2 separate regions of the Homo sapiens genome follow, and region 1 is linked to region 2. Evidence: promoter capture Hi-C in human tissues and cell types (Jung and others, 2019). All regions are on one chromosome and are shown on one strand. Each heading gives the region's core, a stretch centred on a gene start or on the middle of the fragment in contact. The rest is flanking DNA. Distances are from core to core; before and after follow the strand shown.

The links. Contacts are between HindIII fragments. The study calls those that stand out against the background at their distance.
Region 1: the fragment with the promoter of FMO4 here is called in contact with a fragment that was not itself captured in region 2 in 1 of the 25 tissues and cell types used here (IMR-90 fibroblasts).

Annotation. Positions count from the first base shown.
Region 1 is chr1:171,312,895-171,315,594 of GRCh38, forward strand. It overlaps FMO4 (flavin containing dimethylaniline monoxygenase 4), which reads left to right and starts at 1,289. Exons shown (of 10, transcript NM_002022.3): 1 at 1,289-1,519. The HindIII fragment of the contact is 8,197 bases long and covers 1-2,700 here.
Region 2 is chr1:171,076,085-171,078,979 of GRCh38, forward strand. No RefSeq gene overlaps it. Among named protein-coding and RNA genes, the nearest start is that of FMO3, 13 kb to the right of the region's middle. The HindIII fragment of the contact is 4,052 bases long and covers 1-2,895 here.

The DNA of each region.
Region 1 (2,700 bases), core at 39-2,538, 240 kb after region 2:
GGAAGGAACTAACTCTGGACACAATATTTTTTTTTCTTTTTTTAAATTTTTTTCTTTATTTCTTCTAAAAAAAAGTGGGATGCATGTGCAGAACGTGCAGGTTTGTTGCATAGGTACACGTGTGCCATGGTGATTTGCTGCACCTATTGACCTGTTCTCCTCTAAGTTCCCTCTCCTCACCCCCTACCCTACAACAGGCCCTACAACATTCCCCTCTCTGTGTCCATGTGTTCTCATTGTTCAACTCCCACTTATGAGTGAGAACATGCAGTGTTTGGTTTTCTGTTCCTGTGTTAGTTTGCTGAGGATGATGGCTTCCAGCTTCATCCATGTCCCTGCAAAGGACATGATCTTATTTCTTTTTATGGCTGCATAATATTCCATGATATTTTTCAAAAGAAAATATTTGCTGCCAACAGAAGATTTTATATTAAAATCTGTATTTGCAGCTTTTACTGAAAAGAACCTAAGGCCTTGCCATATTGGGCTCATTTTCTCAAATAGCAACATTTAGCTGAACTGAATAGACAGAGAAAGTACTTTCCAGTCAGATCATATCTGGCCCACTTTCCTCGTGTATGTTACCCTCCTCACTCCTGTAGGCATTTGCATGTGTAGTCACAAGCAAATGTGGTTTAGAAATTGTTCAGTGAACCATGTTGGAAAATGTCCCTAAACACAAGTCCTAAAGATGGTCTGTTATATTATCTTACAAGCACACAGTGGAAGGAAAAACAGTTAAGTTTTCTATTTCTGCCACAGCTTCTATAATTATTACCTTTCTTGTGCCCTAGGTTAATATCTAAAAATAGCTTTATGCTTTCTCAAACACATTTCACCAGCTCCCTCTGCTGATCCAATCTGAAGGACAAAACAGCTTAAATTCCTTGTAAGTCCTGAACTTTAAAATCACATTTCTGGGGTTGGAGAACTCCAAGCATGAAAGAACTTGATGAGGTAATGGTCATCTAAATAACTTTCTCCTTTGGACAGCTCCTATGGTAATCCAAGCAAGAGTCAGGGTGTAGAAGTTTGTTTCCAAAAGTAGAACTCCTGTTTCGCTGAGAAAGCTGTAATTTGGGGTGATTTGGCGCCCTCTACAGACTATAATGGCAAAAGCGACGCTATCATGTGCTTCCCATAGCTTTAGGGCTTTGCCAGAACTATGACGTTGAGGAGGGTGGGGTAAAGGGGCAGGAAGCGTTTATGTTCTGCCAATCCAACAGCTGTATTCTAACTCACCATTCCGCCCTCCCTTAAGATCACGGAAGTATCACGCTTGCCTCTTACACAACTTTTTTTCCTTAGTCTGTATACTTTCTGCTGTCACTAGCATAACAGAAAAGACGAATGGCTTTTGTTTTAAACTGAGGGCACTTTTACAAAAGTCATCTTTCCATTTATTTTTCTTTCAGAAAAAAGAATTTGGGTTTTGAGCTTTTTTAAAAAAAAAAGACAAACACTTTCCTTGACTTTGAGAAATAATTTAAGTCAAAGAATCTGCTCTATGCTAACCAAGGTAAGTGTCCTGGATTTTTTTTTTAATGGGGAAATGATCCAGAAACTGCTTTCACAAAAGATGAATGTTTTTCTTGGAGTGTGTTCCTTAAGAATGAATGTGATTATCTTCTTTTGGGGTCTCTTGACTAGGGCTAAAGCAAGAGAATTAAGGAGAGAGTCAGGAAGCAAAGGGAAGTTGTAAGGAAACAAAGTTATGTTGTGGACAGAACCATCCAAAAGGAAAGTGTCAGTGAGATAAACAGAATCATGAGACTTTCAGTGACTCCAGTGACCTCTGATTTCATCTTATGAATGAGATGGAAATGCCAGCCATTGGGAAACAAATACCCCATAGATGGCGTGGGAAAAAAATACTGTAACAAAGCAAGAGCATGGTAGGATGATGATAAGAAACATAAAATGATCAAATTTCAAATTCAAAGAAATCATAATTGATTACATGATTTGCAAATCACCCAAGTCTCTCCATGTCTCATAAAGGATTCCTACATTTGCTGGTCAGTCAGGTATAGGGTGGGGTTTTCCCGTTGTACAAAGGTCTAGTTCAATAGGTCAGGTCTCCTTTCTGCCAAGGGACTAAATATAAGCAACCTATGGCTGGCACGGTGGCTCACGCCTGTAATCCCAGCACTTTGGAAAGCCGAGGAGGGCAGACCACTTGAGATCAGGAGTTTGAGACCAGCCTGACCAACATGGTGAAACCCCGTCTCTACTAAAAATACAAAAATTATCCAGGCGTGGTGCCGCCTGCCTGTAGTCTCAGCTACTCAGGAGGCTGAGGCAGGAGAATCACTTGAACCCAGGAGGTGGAGGTTGCAGTGAGCCGAAATTGTGCCACTGCATTCCAGCCTGGAAGACAGAGTGAGACTCCAACTCAAATAAATAAATAAATAAATATAAGCACCTTTGAGCAACCAAGTACCTTATGAAGTCCACTTTATAGTTTGCAGAGTTTGCACACACGTTCTCCCAATCCTTCAAGCCTGCAGTATTCTCGCCTACCTTTGAATTCATATCTTTTTTTTTTTGTGCACCAATTACTTGGTTTTCAGACATAAGAACAGTCCTTTCAAGCTTGAAGGAAACAAAGAGAAAGCCACTTGAACCCTCTGTTTTACAAATGTGGAAGCACTGGCTCAGAGAAATTGAGAATTGTGTCCAGGGTTACAAGCTGCTTAG
Region 2 (2,895 bases), core at 88-2,587:
CTCCTTAGCTTATAGATAGCCAACTTCTCTGTGTCCTCTCACGATCTTTCCTCTGTGTCTGTGTGTTAATCTCTTCTTATTAGGACACTGTAAGACCAAATTAGAACCCACCCTAATGAACTCATTTAATCTTAGTTCCCCCTTTAAAGACCCTATCTCCAAATACAGTCATCTTTTGCAGTACTACGGGTTAAGACTTCAACGTAGGAGTTTGGTGGGGAGCACAGTTCAGCTCATGACACCTTCATTCCTACCACATCTCATCTTTCACTTTACTGCGAAGATTCAGACCTTTAAACCCTGTTGTCAAATCTTCATTGCCTTCTTGCATGGCTTAGGACTCTTGTCTTTCACTTCAGCTGCCACCCTCAGAAAAAAAGCTGCTACCCCACCATCCCCCTTCCTTTGAACCTATCTAGGAAAACTCTAACCTTAGATGAATTCACCTACTTTACTTCCTTCTCTGCTCCTAGATTACACTGCTCCCTGAGAAACATTACACATGCATGCAGAATGCTGCTATTGCCCATGAAGAAGTCCTGGTCTATTAGAAATCTGTGTTCCTCAACCCCAATCAGACCTTGATACCCCAGGCAAGCCTTATAGGTAGTTCCTGCCTTTATTTAACACTCCTGAAATCTACTACTTGACGACTTGCCCACTCATTCTCAGCAGATGACTTTGCTCCCTACATTATAGACAAAAATAGAAGCCATCATCTAGGAAATTCCTCAACTCCACCATGCCTCTTTCTTTGAACCCAGCCCACCCATATTTGCCTCTACTCCCTTTCTTACTACCTATTCTATCAGACTGCAGATCTATTTGATTCCAAAATTCATGTGTTCTATTTATATTGGGGATGGGTACTGCAGAGGCAGCAGGAAATGAGGAGAAAGAAGAAGCTAGCAAAGTAATTCTTTCTGGTACATAGTCAAGCATAAAAATTACATAAAATATTGTGTTATTTTAACTCAAAGTCTGATTGATATGGTTTTGCTGTGTCCCCACCCAAATCTCATCTTGAATTCCCACATGTTGTGGGAGGGACCCAGTGGGAGGTAATTGAATCATGAGGGCAGGACTTTCCCATGCTGTCCTCATTATAGTGAATAAATCTCATGAGATCTGATGGTTCTATAAGGGGGAGTTTCCCTGCACAAGCTCTCTTTTTGCCTAGTGTCATGATTAGGCTTCCTCAGCCACGTATAAGTCCATTAAATGTCTTTCTTTTGTAAATTGCCCAGTTTCAGGTATGTCTTTATCAGCAACATGAAAACAGACTAATACACTTGTATTTATTAATTTTGCTTTATAAAATTTTAGTATAAAATTATATGCCATCAAGCTTTATTAAAATATGTAGGTTTCTTCTTTCCTAAGAGGCTATCGGAAGTTCTTATAAAAGTTACAAGTGAAATTAAAAAACTAAAGCTTATCTTAAGGAGTTGAGCAATGTGGGATGGCAGGGGGTCGGGGGAGGGGCATGAGTTATGCATCATATGCACTTGAAACAGATGTCTACTGGGTGGCTGCCCCAGAAGAATCATTTTTAGTTCCAAGGTCCAAGCCTGTTAGACTACGTATCAATTGTGCAAAGCTTGGATGAAGATTCAAGGCCTTCCTGGCACATTCTTCAAGGCCCTTTCTTTTTCACCTCTTTATCTAGTTCCTAACTTTTCTTAAACATATAAAAATATTTCAATATATTCAATAGTTCCTTGTACTCAATTTTTCTCAGTAGTGATCACATGTGAATCACATTTTATCTGCAGTATAGACAGCAGCTTAAGGATGTAGACATGAAATAATTTAACTGAACCATTTCATTAGAAATTTTTTTAACTCAGAAGTTCAGCTGCAAACGTGGAGGAGTTTTTAGATTACATATGTGGGGTTTTATCAATATCTTATATGTATTTTTAATGCAAAAATCTTCACAACCAAAAAGAGACATTGGTTTTTAAACAGTAATCATACGTTACTGCAGATCTATGTATCACTAACCTATGAAAAATCTGGCACGCTTTCTGAGGTCAATGTCAATACCAAAAAAGAGCCCGCATCGCCAAGTCAATCCTAAGCCAAAAGAACAAAGCTGGAGGCATCATGCTACCTGACTTCAAACTATACTACAAGGCTACAGTAACCAAAACAGCATGGTACTGGTACCAAAACAGACATATAGATCAATGGAACAGAACAGAGCCCCCAGAAATAACGCCACATATCTACAACTATCTGATCTTTGACAAACCTGAGAAAAACAAGCAATGGGGAAAGGATTCCCTATTTAATAAATGGTGCTGGGAAAACTGGCTAGCCATATGTAGAAAGCTGAAACTGGATCCCTTCCTTACACCTTTTACAAAAATTAATTCAAGATGGATTAAAGACTTAAACATTAGACCTAAAACCATACAAACCCTAGAAGAAAACCTAGGCATTACCATTCAGGACATAGGCACAGGCAAGGATTTCATGTCCAAAACACCAAAAGCAATGGCAACCAAAGCCAAAATTGACAAATGGGATCTAATTAAACTAAAGAGCTTCTGCACAGCAAAAGAAACTACCATCAGAGTGAACAGGCAACCCATAAAATGGGAGAAAATTTTCGCAACCTACTCATCTGACAAAGGGCTAATATCTAGAATCTACAATGAACTCAAACAAATTTACAAGAAAAAAACAAACAACCCCATCAAAAAGTGGGTGAAGGACATGAGCAGACAGTTCTCAAAAGAAGACATTTATGCAGCCAAAAAACACATGAAAAAATGCTCACCATCACTGGCCATCAGAGAAATGCAAATCAAAACCACAATGAGATATCATCTCATACCAGTTAGAATGGCAGTCATTAAAAAGTCAGGAAACAACAGGTGCTGGAGA